Regions from separate parts of the Homo sapiens genome. Here all the other regions are linked to region 1. The links are contacts of gene promoters, found by promoter capture Hi-C in human tissues and cell types (Jung and others, 2019). All regions are on one chromosome and are shown on one strand. Each heading gives the region's core, a stretch centred on a gene start or on the middle of the fragment in contact. The rest is flanking DNA. Distances are from core to core; before and after follow the strand shown.

Evidence for each region. The method cuts DNA at HindIII sites, captures the fragments that hold promoters and counts their contacts. A contact is called where the count stands out against the background at its distance.
Region 2: a contact is called between the fragment with the promoter of HAGH here and the fragment with the promoter of CEMP1 in region 1, in 1 of the 25 tissues and cell types used here (lymphoblastoid cells).
Region 3: the fragment with the promoter of NDUFB10 here is called in contact with the fragment with the promoter of CEMP1 in region 1 in 2 of the 25 tissues and cell types used here (lymphoblastoid cells and spleen).
Region 4: the fragment with the promoter of ZNF598 here is called in contact with the fragment with the promoter of CEMP1 in region 1 in 3 of the 25 tissues and cell types used here (IMR-90 fibroblasts, lymphoblastoid cells and spleen).

What each region holds. Positions count from the first base shown.
Region 1 is chr16:2,529,695-2,533,313 of GRCh38, reverse strand. It overlaps CEMP1 (cementum protein 1), which reads left to right and starts at 1,906. Exons shown (of 1, transcript NM_001048212.3): 1 at 1,906-3,279. The coding sequence starts at 2,241. The coding sequence ends at 2,984. AMDHD2 (amidohydrolase domain containing 2) reads right to left here. Exons shown (of 11, transcript NM_001330449.2): 11 at 1,897-3,619. MIR3178 (microRNA 3178) reads left to right here and starts at 1,309; the gene lies at 1,309-1,392. RefSeq lists enhancers at 624-673, 1-675, 1,454-1,503. The HindIII fragment of the contact is 25,225 bases long and covers 1-3,619 here.
Region 2 is chr16:1,824,940-1,828,558 of GRCh38, reverse strand. HAGH (hydroxyacylglutathione hydrolase) reads left to right here and starts at 1,734. Exons shown (of 9, transcript NM_005326.6): 1 at 1,734-1,847. The coding sequence starts at 1,772. It overlaps FAHD1 (fumarylacetoacetate hydrolase domain containing 1), which reads right to left and starts at 1,353. Exons shown (of 1, transcript NM_031208.4): 1 at 1-1,353. The coding sequence starts at 1,320. The coding sequence ends at 655. RefSeq lists an enhancer at 1,134-1,323 and a silencer at 1,414-2,383. The HindIII fragment of the contact is 9,774 bases long and covers 1-3,619 here.
Region 3 is chr16:1,958,240-1,960,787 of GRCh38, reverse strand. NDUFB10 (NADH:ubiquinone oxidoreductase subunit B10) reads right to left here and starts at 1,250. Exons shown (of 4, transcript NM_004548.3): 1 at 1,034-1,250. The coding sequence starts at 1,163. RefSeq lists silencers at 621-730, 1,161-1,470 and an enhancer at 2,193-2,548. The HindIII fragment of the contact is 2,906 bases long and covers 1-2,283 here.
Region 4 is chr16:2,007,799-2,011,417 of GRCh38, reverse strand. It overlaps ZNF598 (zinc finger protein 598, E3 ubiquitin ligase), which reads left to right and starts at 1,597. Exons shown (of 14, transcript NM_178167.5): 1 at 1,597-1,680; 2 at 1,682-1,793; 3 at 1,795-1,894. The coding sequence starts at 1,671. LOC124903626 (a long non-coding RNA gene) reads right to left here and starts at 1,533. Exons shown (of 2, transcript XR_007064941.1): 1 at 1,316-1,533; 2 at 830-1,110. RefSeq lists enhancers at 1,239-1,398, 923-1,871 and silencers at 1,479-1,698, 1,789-2,218, 2,229-2,298. The HindIII fragment of the contact is 21,988 bases long and covers 1-3,619 here.

The DNA.
Region 1 (3,619 bases), core at 657-3,156:
CAGAATGAGACTCCGTGTTAAAAAAAAAAAAAAAAAAAGGCTGGGCACAGTGGCTCACGCCTGTAATCCCAGCACTTTCAGAGGCCTAGGCGGGCGAATCAATTGAGGTCAGGAATTCAAGACCAGCCTGGCCAACATAGTGAAACCCTGTCTCTACCAAAAATACAAAAAAATTAGTCAGGTGTGGTGGCGTGCGCCTGTAATCCCAGCTACTAAGGGGGCTGAGGCGGAGAATCGCTTGAACCCGGGAGGCGGAAGCTGCAGTGAGCAGAGATCGCACCACTGCACTCCAGCCTGCGCAACACAGCCAGGCTCCGTCACACACACACAAACCGAACTGCAAAGTAATAGCAAAAGTGTAAACCCATTTAGAAAAAACGTGTGTGACATAAATGTGATAAAAGGAACAGGGCCAGTCTGGGAGGGAGTACCCGGACGCTCCGGAGCTGTCCCAGACTCCAGGGGCGGAAAAGCCGGGCTGAAGAGGTGCCCTTCCTCCACGCTTCTGGTGCCAATCTCCCCTGCTGCGCCCACCCTGGGTCCCTAGCCTGGGCTCCAAACCAACTCCGAGCTAGGGAAGCTCCGAGCCAGGGTGCTTCTAGAGTGTCCGGCCCACCCCTCCGCTTCATTTCCCAAGACAGTGAGGGCGGGGCTAGAGGCCAGGTGCGGAGGTGCGGGACAGGAGCCAAGCTGGGTCGTAGTGGGATCCACCTGTGCGTGATACGTAACAGAAGGGAGAGGCGAGGCGCGGGGAGGTCCGCAGGGATGTGGGAGACGCGACGGGGAGGACTGGGACGAAACAAACTAGGTCCGCAAGGGTATAAGGGGAGCAGCTCGGAGGGTTGGGGCGAGGCGGGGTCTACAGGGGTGTGGGGGGCTTGGCAGGGAGCGCTGGGGCGACGCGGAGCTCCGCAGCGTTGGCGGGGAGCGTTGTGGGGAGACGGGGTCTGCAGGAATGTGAGGGCGCGGTGGGGAGCGTAGCGGGGTATGCAAGGTTGTGAGGGTTGTGGATGGGAGGGCTGGGGCGAGGCGGGGTCCGCAGAGATGTGGGGGGCGCAGAGATGGGGGGGGTCCGCGGGCCCGCCGGGGACCGCGCAGCCTCGGGCTCTGTGCCCGGGGCCGCGCGGGTTAACTAGAGAAGGTGACGCGCGCCCCTGTTGCTCAGCCGCGGCGCGTGCCTTCCCTGCGGCGATCCTAATTGGCCCGACAGAAGCCCGCCCCCAGAAGCCCCTCCCACAGTAGGCAAGGCCCCGCGTGCCGCAACGCTCCCAGAGTTGCGCGTCAGCCTGGACTCAGCGCCTGCGCTACGAGGCTGGGCGGGGCGCGGCCGGATCGGTCGAGAGCGTCCTGGCTGATGACGGTCTCCCGTGCCCACGCCCCAAACGCAGTCTCTGGCCTGGATGTGCTCGGAGCCCACGAGGTGCAGAGGCTCGGACGGCGAAAGGGACCTGGCTGAGATCTGGGTCTTAAACCGCGGGCTCGGCCCAGCATCCCGGCAGCGTGCGCCCACAAGTGACACCCGGCCGGGCGCGGTCTGCGGGATCGCAGGCGCCGGGTCTCATCTCCAGTTCACACACGGGACGAAACGGGCCACCCCTACCAGCTCTGAGAGCATGCACCTCCAACTCCATCCCTCCCCACATGCCCGACCCCCCAACCCGTAACTCAGGCAGACACCTGGGCGTCCCCCTTCAGCGAATGCCCACACCGCGGGCAGGCCTGCCCCTCACCCCGCAGTCAGGGCGCCCTGCATCCTTCTTTGTAAAACCCATAGCTGTAGAGGGAGCGGAATGGTGGGGCAGGGCTGGGAGCCCAGCGGGAGTGAGTGGTGGGGAATGATGGTGGCCAAGGTCACACAAAGCAGTGAATTCACTTCATGTCACAGAACTGCTCAGGTTACGATAGTTACTTTTGTTATGTATTTTACCACAATTTTTAAAAAGCAAACCAAAACCAACCAAGAGTGCTTCCCCCACACCTCAAAATCATCCTGCAGCAGCTCCCTGGCCCAGCTCTCTCTCACCCTGACCCTGGGCCCCTCTCCCACCACCCAGGGCTAGCCCTGTGGACCAACCATCTCTGCCAGCCCCTCCCCGACCCTCCAGCCAGGGAGGTGGGGCGCTGGCCGGTGAATGGGGCAGGCCAGGCCCAAAGGCTGGCCCAGGGCTCACCAGCTCTGGACTGGGCGTCCCGTCTGAGGTGGGGATGACCAACATGCCAGCTCTGGGTTTTAGCTGAGGATGGGCACATCAAGCACTGACAGCCAGCAAGCTGGGCACAGGCGATGCTCAACCTCTAACACATCGGCTGAGAACCTCACCTGCCTCTCCCTGCCTGGGAGCCCTGGCAAGACAGCTCCTCTCCCAGGCCCAGCACAGGCAGGCGCTGGACAGCCACTTCCTAAGGGGTGCGCGGCCGTCAAGGCAGAGGTGGGTATCCCTGCACCTCACACCTCTCAGGAGGTCAGGATCCACATCCGTCGCCTGCTTTCCTGGGCTGCCCCTGGGGCTTGTGGGCTGAGATCAACCCCTTGTGCCCTGCCCCAGGCCCTCCCTCAGGCGAGGCCCTGCCCAGGCAGGTGGTTCTTCCCTGGCTGTTCCCTTCCAACAGGTGGGGCCCAGACCATCCTATCTCTTTGGACCTGGAGACATTTCCTTAACTGGGCTTTGCAGCAGAGGGAAGAGAACAGTGGCAGAGCCAGGCGCGTACCTCCTGTGCCCAGGACAGCACCTGTAAGCAAGGGGGAAGGGAGCCACCCACCCCAGAACTCAAATGGAGAGAAAGTCAAGACAATCACCCCTGACGTGGGGCTGCACCAATCCCTGACGTCTGACCCCACTGTGGCTGTCCTCAGAGCCAAGAGGGCTCCAGAAGCCCACCCGCCTCGAAGCTGTTCAGGGAGCCTCACGGCCCGTGTTTGCCACATGGGTGTGTGCCAGGGCCAAGGGGACACAGAAGATGGCAGGATGACACTAATGGGGTGAGCAGGGCACACTGGTGCCTCCCATACTGCCCTCCAGCACCAGGCAGGGTCACCACAGCCGGCAAGCACTGGGCCTGGGGATGTGTGAAGAGATAGGGTTATTGAGAAGAGAAAACAGAACGCTGGTCATCCGTGGCACTCAGGGCTAGGCAGTCCAGGGAGCAGAAAACAGGGGTCCCGGGCCCAGTCTCCCTCCTGGAGGTCAGAGCGGAGCCCCTGGCACTGTGCCCTGGCCCAGAACCAGGCTGTGGGCTCCACGCTGCACACCCCAACTCAGGAGCAGAAAGCAAACCCCTGACTGTCCACACTCCCTGTGACTGGTCCCCTTCCTGCCGGCTCTTCACCCCCAGCCCATGGTGGCTTCACCCCATGGCACCAGCCACTGACTGCCTGCCCCTCCCTCCCATAGTGACACTTTCCTGGGGTCTGCAGGTCTCCGGTCCACTTCATGCAGACAGGCCCTGTCCCCCACTGGGGCCCAAGGCCCAGGCTAAACTACAGCCCAGCCATCCCACCCCAGGCCGTGAATGCCTTCTCCAGGAGGGCAACCAAGGATGGTGCCACATGTGAGCACAAGCAAAACCCGGAGCCAAGGCGAGTCCTGCTGGGTGCACGTTTATCCCAGCCACCGCCTCC
Region 2 (3,619 bases), core at 485-2,984, 700 kb after region 1:
AACATAACTTTCAGTTTTCTCTGCAGTTTTTAAGTGCTGAACTACTGATCATCCTAGAGATAACCCACTGAAAAGTCTTCTCTAATCCAGTTTTACAAAAGGAAAGTCTTTTTAACATTTGGTTTGATAAAATGTTTTCCGAAGAAATACTTTACTTGCCTGTTTTCATTTCTGGCCCACCCGTTCTACTTCACGTTTTCTTGAAGGGTTCATCTTCTATGAGTTGAGGCATAGCAATCTAATCATTTTTAAAATAAATGGTTTCTTTTTTTTTTTTTTTTTTTGAGACGGAGTCTCGCTGTTGCCCAGGAGTACAGTGGCGCAATCTCAGCTCACTGTAAGCTCCGCCTCCCGGGTTCAATTGATTCTCCTGCCTCAGCCTCCAGAGTAGCTGGGACTACAGGCGCCCGCCACCACGCCCGGCTAATTTTTTGTATTTTTAGTAGAGACGGGGTTTCACCCTGTTAGCCAAGATGGTCTGGATCTCCTGACGTCGTGAGCCGCCCGCCTCGGCCTCCCAAAGTGCTGCGATTACAGGCGTGAGCCACCGCGTCCGGCCAATAAATGGTTTCTAATTAAAGGATTGTGACATTTAATAGCCGTTGCTTGCTCTTGTCTTGCTCCCTTCTCTCTCGAAACTTGTTAAGAAATAACTCAATATTCTGGCTTTTCCACTTTAAATGTCATACTGACCAGCCCGTGTATGCCAGCCTCGATCTCATCGTTTTCTTTAACCGGTCCAACTCCCTTTGGCGTCCCAGTCAAGATAATATCTCCTTCTTCCAAGGTTATGATCTTAGAAACATAGCTGATGATGTAGGGGATGGAAAAAATCATGGAGGATGTCTCACCCTCCTGTCTGAGTTCGCCGTTGACCTTGAGCCAGAGCTTCAGCTTGTGAGGGTCAGGGATCTTCTCCTTGGGCACGAACGCGCTGACCGGGCAGGACGCCGTGAAGCTCTTCGCCAGAGTCCAGGGCAGCCCCTTCTTCTTGCACTCGTCCTGCACGTCCCGGGCGGTCATATCCAGGCACAGGGCATAGCCGCCCACGTAGTCCATGGCCGCAGCCTCGGGGACTGCGCGGCAGCGCTTGCCCATCACCACGCCCAGCTCCAGCTCGTGGTGCAGGTTGCGAGTGTACGCGGGCATGAGGATGGGCGAGCCCTCGGGCGCGTAGGCCGTGGACGGCTTCAGGAACAGCACGGGCTCGCTCAACACCGCGCTGCGCATCTCCCTGACGTGGTCCGCGTAGTTCCTCCCCACGCAGACGATGTTCTTTCCCCACTCCCAGAAGCGGGACAATGGCCTGGATGCTGCCATGATTCCCATCAAGTGCCCCTGTAGTCACGTGGGCTGGGCCGGTCAGCTGATGCCTACGGCATCCCGGAGAGGACCAACTGCCTCGGAACGCTGTCCCCCGCAGCGACGGCCCGTTCCACCTCGCGATCTGCCGGGTACCCGGGCGGCGTGGCGCTCGGCCTCCAGGGATCCACTGTGCGGTGCCAAAAAAGAGGCGGAGGCTCGCGGCACAGCTCTCCCGGCGCAGCTCTCGGGCCGCCGCCGCCGCTCCCAGGCCCGTCTCCCGGCCCGTGGCAGTCGGGGCTCGCGGACAAAACAAGTTGAGCGCGAGCGCGTTGATTGGTTGGCGGACGGTGCGAGGTGGACGCTGATTGGCTGAGGGCAGCGCGAGGCGGGCGCTGATTGGCTGCGACGCGCCGACGCCGGTGTTTTGCAGTCCTGGGCAGCTCGGCAGTCCAGCCCGGCCCGGGTCATGGTGGTGGGCCGAGGGCTGCTCGGCCGCCGCAGCCTCGCCGCGCTGGGAGCCGCCTGCGCCCGCCGAGGCCTCGGTGGGTGCGGCGGGGCGGTGCGGGCCGGGGGACGCGGGCCTGGCGGGGCGGGCAGCGGGCGGCGCCGGGCCGTCGTTTGGCGACCGCTGACGCGGTGTCTGTTGCGCAGGTGCCTAAGGCCGCGCTGCCGGGCTCGAGCGGAGGCGGCGCAGGCGCTGAGGCTGGCGCGGAGCGGGCGCGGGGCCGCGGGTGCGGAAAGCGCTAGGTAAGCAGGGCCAGGCCTGCGTCCGCCGCGGCCTCCACGCTCGGGCTGGGCCGGCCGCGCCCCTGACGCCTCCAGGGCATCGCGTCCTGCCCGGGCCGGCGCCGAGGAGAGCCTGGGGCGCGGCTCTGAGGCGCAGCGGGCAGGGCCCCGGGACGCCTGGCCCACCCCGCACCTGCTGCCCCGCTGCAAGGACCGCGGTCTCGCGGCGCCGCCTGCGGTGGTGGAGCTGCCCGCCCGGCGCCGGAGCCCCCGTCTGGGGACCCGGCGTGTCATTCGCCCGAGGTGGTCGCGCGGCCGGGCCAGGCCAGCGCCCCGGGCGGGTGCGCAGCGCAGGGCACTGGGCGGGCGGAGGCGCAGACAGGGAGGCGTCCCTGGCGGTTTCCAGATCTCGCCGAAAGCTGTCAAGGCTCTGCAGGGGGTAGAATGTCGCCATTGCTAAGGAAAGGACATGGATTTTGAGGTCCTCAGAATTACAGTTTTAGGGACATTCATAAGGGTCCAGGCAGAGAGTTCCAGCGGGACTGTGTGCATCGGCAGGGCGTGCGTACCCCATTCTAAGGGAGGCCCCAGCCCCCGTATTTGGTGCCGCCCAGTTCAAGGGAAGCAAGATGCTGTGAAACTTCCTGATTTAAAAAAGAAGTGCAGTGACGCACGCCTGTCATCCCAGCACTTTGGGAGGCCGAGGCGGGAGGATCGCTTGAGTCCAGGAGTTCCAGACCAGCCTGGCAACATGTTGAGACCTCATCGCTACAAAAACTAAACAAAATCAGCCGGGCGTGGTGGCACACAACTGTAGTCTCAGTCACTTTGGAGGCTGAGGTGGGAGGATCGCTTGAGTCCAGGAGGTCGAGGCTGCAGTGACCCTTGATCGCACCACTGCACTGTAGCCTAGGGGACAGAGTGAGACCATATCTCAATTTTTTTTTGTTTTTGGGGCCAAACCGAACATGTTTCTGGACTTGGTCCAGGCCCCAGGCTGCAGGTCCTTGACCTGTTTGTACAAAGTATTACAGTTACAAAACAGCAAGCCGGGAACATTTGCCAGGCAGTGCTGGGCTGAGTGATATGGAAAGGGAATACGGTTTCTGCTGGTGTTGGCACCAGCTGCGTCTTTCCTCAGAAATAAAGGCACCTCCCTGGGTTGTCAGCTTCTTCAGGAGGCTGTGATGGTCTCCAGGGGAGGCTGAGCACCAGTTGTAAATGACATTTTCTTCGCCTGGGCAGTGCAGTGGCCAATCTCGGCTCACTGCAACCTCTGCCTCCCGGGCTCAAGCGAGTCTCCTGCCTCAGCCTCCTGAGTAGCTGGGACTACAGGCGCTCGCCACCACGCCCAGCTAATTTTTGTATTTTTTAGTAGAGACAGGGTTTCACCATATTGGTCAGGCTGGTCTCGAACTCCTGACCCCGCGATCCGCCCGCCTCGGCCTCCCAAAGTGCTGGGATGACAGGCGTGAGCCACCGCACGTGGGCAGTATTTTTGTTTGTAATGTTCTGCTCCTTGTTTGTAATGGAGCTCCTTTCCAGGAGGACGCCCGGCACTCGGAATCCTGTCACAACCCTTCTGCAC
Region 3 (2,548 bases), core at 1-2,500, 570 kb after region 1:
GGCTCCAACAGGGAGCCTCCAGCAAGCAGAACTTACCACCTTACGGCCTCAGCTTCCTCACTGGGAAATGAACGAGCTAAAAGGAGAGCTCGAACATCCAGACACATAGGACAGACATGCTCTACAACTGCTACAAAAGAGAGGGAGCTGGGTCCGCTGTTGCACGGTTTCCAGATCTTTGGGGGTTTGATTTGGAGACTTCACCCTCTTACGGAAGAACCACCAGAGCATGCTATGCACCCCAAGTGTTCAAAAAGAACTGAACCAGGCTGGACACGGTGGCTCAGGCCTGTAATCCCAGCACCTGGGGGCCAAGGTGGGAGGATCACCTGAGGTCAGGAGTTCGAGACCAGCCTGGCCAACATGGTGAAACCCCGTGTCTACTAAAAATATAAAAATTAGCTGGGCGTGGTGGTGGTGCGCCTGTAATCCTAGTACTGGGGAGGCTGAGGCAGGAGAATCGCTTGAACCCGGGGTGGGGCAGAGGTTGCAGTGAGCCGAGATCGCGCCACTGCACTCCAGCCTGGGCAACAGAGTGAGACTGTCTCAGGAAAAAAAAAAACAACAAAAACTGAACTGGGCATTTTCCCGGTTCGTTCCAGAGATGCTGAATTTGGGCATCTCGGCCATCACCCCGACACTTGGTCATCCGGCAGAGAGACATTTGAGAGAGGCCTGAGGCCAGCGGTGCAGTGGAGGGGTGCCCGGGGCGGCGGGGGGCGGAGAGCAGTGCGGGGTCCTGGGGCAGTGGGCGCTGGGTGCGGCAGGGAGGGAAGAGTCCTGGGAAGAAGCGGGGCATCCCGGGGTGCAGGGGAGAGTAAGGGATCCTGGGAGGTGAGGTCCGGGGTGCAGTGGGAGGCCAAAGGAGGCGACGGAGCTCGGAGGTCTCCGGGGGTGGGGAGTTGTCCCCGGGGTGCAGCGGGGGGCGGTCTCAGGCAGACGGGACCCCGGAGGCATTGGAGGATCCAGGCAGGGTGTGGGATCCAGGGGTCCCCAGAGGCCGGCGAGGGAGCCCCGGGCTGGGGCTTCGTACCTCTCACGAGGGTCACGGGTCGGTCCACGATGAGGTCGAACGCTTTCATCATGTAGACGATGGGATTGGGCTGCACCGGCGTGCGGCGCGGGGGCTCAGGGTACACATCCTTGTCCCAGCTGTCCGGCATGGCGGCGGCGGGCGCGGACTCCGCTCCCGGACGCGCTGCCCTGGCCTCTACCTCCGTCCGGGTCCCGCGGCCTAGGTCGCCCGCTACAGAGGACGCCGAGGGCGGCTGCGTCTGCGCGCTGGCGCCGCGATGCACCATGGGACTTGTAGTTCCCCGGCTCCGCCGGGCGCGGCCGGGACCCGCCTCGCCGCAGGGCGCCCCCGCGTGGGGCCTCCGTTCTCGGTCTGTGCCGAGCGCCTACGCGGTGCTGGTCGCTGGTCTGGGCGCCTGGGAAGCAGCCGCGAACCGGACAGATTCCTGCTTACGATGAAAGAAACAGACAAAAGGCAACTGACATAAGGAATAGGAGGGGGTCATTCGGTTCCCACTGCGCGCCAGGCACTGTGCTGAGTGCAGCAGGGAATAAGATAAACTGTGATGGAGAACACAGGCCGTTAGAGCGCACACGACAAAGTGAACAAATAGCACGCGATTCCAAACACCCTACTCCTCCAGGAAGCTTTCCTGGATTGCCTAGTCCCTACAGACTTCTCTGGGCCCCGCTCTCTACAAGGGCCCCTCATGGACTGGCTGGTGCCAGTTAACTTGGGAGCCTGTCTGGGGGAGGGCAGGGAGCAGACCAGGAGGCAGGGCTTGCCCTTAGGCGGCTCATAGGGAGAAGGCACCTACCCTGGGCACAGGGCCCTCTGGCCGGCTTTGATGGTTCCATCCTGGCCCTGGGGCACTCTGGTGCTTCTAGGCAGCTCCACTGAGCAGGGTCCTGCTGGCCACATCTTCAGTCTCCACACCTGGCACGGCCCCTGGCTGCTATCCAGGGGGGACACTGGTCATGTCCTGTCCTGAGGTTGAGGCCAGCGACACAGAACCATCAACCCTACAGACAAACAGTGAGAGGTGACAGCGTGCTGGCAGTCCTCAGAGCCCTCGCTCGCTCTCGGCGCCTCCTCTGCCTGGGCTCCCACTTTGGCGGCACTTGAGGAGCCCCTTTCTGGGCTGGCCAAGGCCAGAGCGGGCTCCCTCAGCTTGCGGGGAGGTGTGGAGGGAGAGGCGCAGGCGGGAACCGGGGCTGCGCGCGGTGCTTTGCGGGCCAGCGCGAATTCCAGGTGGGTGTGGGCTCGGCGGGCCCCGCACTCGGAGAGCCTGGCCGGCCCTGCCGGCCCTGGGCAATGAGGGGCTTAGCACCCGGGCCAGCGGCTGCGGAGGGTGTGCTGGGTCCCCCAGCAGGCCGGCCCACCGGCGCTGCGCTCGATTTCTCTCGCCAGGCCTTAGCTGCCTCCCCGCGGGGCAGGGCTCGGGACCTACAGCCCGCCATGCCTGAGCCTCCCCCACTCCGTGGGCTCCTGTGCGGCCCGAACCTCCCCGACGAGCGCCGCCCCCTGCTCCAG
Region 4 (3,619 bases), core at 348-2,847, 520 kb after region 1:
AGGCCAAGGCAGGTGGATCAAGAGGTCAGGAGATCGAGACCATCCTGGCGAACATGGTGAAATCCTGTCTCTACTAAAAATAAAAAAAAAAAATTAGCAGGGCGTGGTGGCGGGTGCCTGTAGTCCCAGCTACTCAGGAGGCTGAGGCAGGAGAATGGCGTGAACCCGGGAGGCGGAGCTTGCAGTGAGCCGAGATCACGCCACTGCACTCTAGTCGTGTGTGTTTTTTTTTTTTTTTTTGAGATGGAGTCTCGCTCTGTTGCCAAGGCTGGAGTGCAGTGGCGTGATTGTCGTGATCTCGGCTCACTGCAACCTCTGCCTCACGGTTTCAAGAGATTCTACTGCCTCAGGCTGCCGAGTAGCTGGGACTACAGGCACATGTCACCACGCCCGGCTAATTTTTGTATTTTTAGTAGAGATGGGGTTTCACCATTTTGGTCAGGCTTGTCTCCAATTCCTGACCTCAGGTGATCCCAACCTCCCAAAGTGCTGGGATTACAGGCGTGAGCCACCACGCCCGGCCTAAAAATTTTTTTTGTGGAGATGGAGCCTGACTGTGTAGGCCAGGCTGGTCTCAAATTCCCAGGCTCCAGCAATCCGGGCCACCCAGCCTCCCAAACTGCTGGGATTACAGGCTTGAGCCACTGTGCCTGACAGCTTTTTTCAAGTGGCAAAATTGGGGTTTCAAGCCCATTTGTGTCTGTTTCTAAAGTCCAAGTTCACTGGGCATGGATCACTTGAGCCCAGGAGGTTGAGGCCTCAGTGTGCTGTGATCGTACCACTGTGTTACAGCAAGAGCAAGACCCGGTCTCAAATAAAGTAAGTAAAGTTCAGGCTCATTGATACAATTTACTGCCTCTTTTCCAGTAGGGTTTAGATCTGGACCTGCCTTCTGGATGGCAGAGGGAGGGAGGTCCTGAGTGTGCCTGGCCCTCAAGGGTAGGGAGGAGGCCCTGTTACTGCAGCATCCATCCAAACACGTCCTGTGCTGGGCCCAGCGTAAAGAGGACAGGTTCCGTTCGTGCCTTCCAGAGGCCCCTTCTGGGCAGGCCTGGCGAGACTGCCCTGGGCTGCGAGATGGACGTCACCACGTGCTGCCTTTCACGTTGTCTTTCATGTAGGGATTTAAACAGGGCATTAGGGAAGTGGAGGCGGGACCACGCTTGTGTGTGTTCCAAATACCAGAGACCGGTTTCCTAATAAGGTGGCCAGATTTAGCAAATACAAATACGGCAGGTCCACTTAAATGTCAATTTCAGATAAGGAGCAGCATTTTAGTATGAGCCTAGCCCATCAATATTTGGGCTATACTTACACTAAGACATGACCCCTTGTTCATCTGAGATGCAAACCAGTTGTGCCGTGTTTCATCTGACAACGCCAGTTCGTGGAGCCCGGCGAGTGTTGACGTGACACGCGTGGCCCAGAGGAGCCCGGGGCTGGCCGCGTGGCCGCGCGGACCTTCGAGCGGTCGGCTCATGGTAGAGCGGCCTCTATCAGGGCCACCGCTCTAGCCGGCGCCGCGCTGAGGCGGAAGTCGCGACGCGCACTTGCGCCGGGCGGGCCCGTTGCTGGGTGGGGCGGTGACGTTTGCCCGGAAGGGGCGGGCCCGCCGGGAGCCAGGCCGCTCGGCGCCACGACCGGCCGAGAGGGGGGCCGGATCCCGGACCATGGCGGCGGCCGGGGGGCGCCGAGGGGCGGCGCGCGGACATGGAGGCGGAGGCGGCGGCAGCTCCTGAGCGGGGAGGCGGGAGCTGCGTGCTGTGCTGCGGAGACCTGGAGGCCACGGCGCTGGGGCCGCTGCGACCACCCGGTGTGCTACCGCTGCTCTACCAAGATGCGGGTGCTCTGCGAGCAGCGCTACTGCGCCGTGTGCCGCGAGGAGCTGCGCCAGGTGCGGGGCGCCGGGGGCGCGGCCCGGGGGCAGCGGGGCTCCCGGCGACCGGATGGGGACTTTGCCTCACTGAGGTCCGGCCGTGGGCCCGGCGGCGCCGGCTTCCGAGAGAGGCCTGGTGGGGCCACCCAGGGCGGGGTCCCGGCCGTGCGGCTGACGGCGGGGCGTTGGGGCTTGGAGGCCGGAGGCGGCCGAGCGGGTTGCAGGAGGGGGCAAGCCCTGTGGGGACAGCCTGGGGACTTCCCCCGTGTCCCGGGGGTTCCTGCCGGGCCTCAGGAAGGGTCCTGATCAGATGGAGAACTCGGTGACCTGCTCGTCTTCAGGAGTTTATTTTCCAGGGTCCTCCATTCGAGGAAACAAGGCAAGGGGGACTCTGCGGAGGCCATCCGTCCTGGAAGCAGGGCGTCAAACTCTGGGCATTCTCAGCCCAGCTGTGTTTCTGGGCCCCCATTGGATGACCCTGAGCAAACTCCTTCCGAGACTGACGTTTTCCTCTGTGGAGTGGAGGTGACACTAGCCTCGGAAGGAGACCTGCCCGTCGGAGGGGAAGGCCCCCTCGCGCTTCTTGGCGGGAAGGGAGAAAAGTGTTAGGAAGTTGTCCTCCTCCTCGCCGCCGCCCCCCGCCTTTGGCGCTCATCTCCGCAGTGAATGGGAGACGTTTTTGACTGTACAGACTTGGAAGCCGTGGAGGGGTCAGAGGGTACCATGCAGCGTTCCTCCACCCTCACTGCACTGCCAGCTGCTGGCTGTGGGCACCTGGCTGGAGCCCGTTGGTTTGCTGAGCTTAGAGATTTGTTTGCTTCCAGCATTGTGAAATTCCCCCGGTTTGTTCATAGAAGGCTTCGGCTGGTGACATCTGCCAGGAATCTAACTTTCTTCTCCCCAGAAGTGATGCAGAGCAGTATTGAGGTGTAGGTTCTTTCTTTTTTTCCTTTTCTTTCTTTAAGTAGACGTTTACATCAAAGGAGTTGAAGAGATGCTGCAATTCTCTGAGCAATTTGTGGGCTTATAGTCTGTGCCCTTTTTGGAAAAAGACATTTGGAGATTCTATCAGTCTGTCATGTGACAGGAGGAGGCCGACCCAGACCCCGGGGAGATCTGGGGTGCAGGAACAGTCACAGAGGACCTTGGCCCGTGGCTTCCTCAGGGCGCTTCCTGGCTTTGCCAGGGCCTGCCTTGCCAGCCAGTCCTGCATAGCATGACCTCACTCTCCAACAGCTAGGTTTCCCAGCACACCTGTAGCTTCCTTCCGGAAAGAAGACGCTAAGGAGTTCTTGGCACGTGAGGTCCCGACCCAGGCTGCAGGTCTGATGCAAGACATGAGTGAACATCTGCGTATGCTTACTGTGGCAGCCTCTGCCCGCTCTCATTCCTTGTAGGCCCCACGCCCTCCAGGAGCTCTGTGGCTGGGGGCTGCGGACATGAGCTGTCAGCCGGGGTGTGGTTTGGCACTGGGTGCCCCCAGCCGGCTTCCTCTAGGGCCTACCCCGCCTTACTGGGCTGAAGGAGGGGCTCCTGGAAAGTTTGCTGTTTGCTGGTCTCCTCTCCTTTGCATTCGTTCTATTTTCTTCCCATCTTGAGCTTGCCGCCTCACTCTAGTCTCCTTTTTCCTTACTGAGTTCAGCACCATCCCCTGAATATATTCTGTGTCCCATGCGTGCTCAGGAATTCCCACTGCAACCCTCAACTCCTGAACCCTGGCGTTGCCTTGGCCTCCCTTATGGG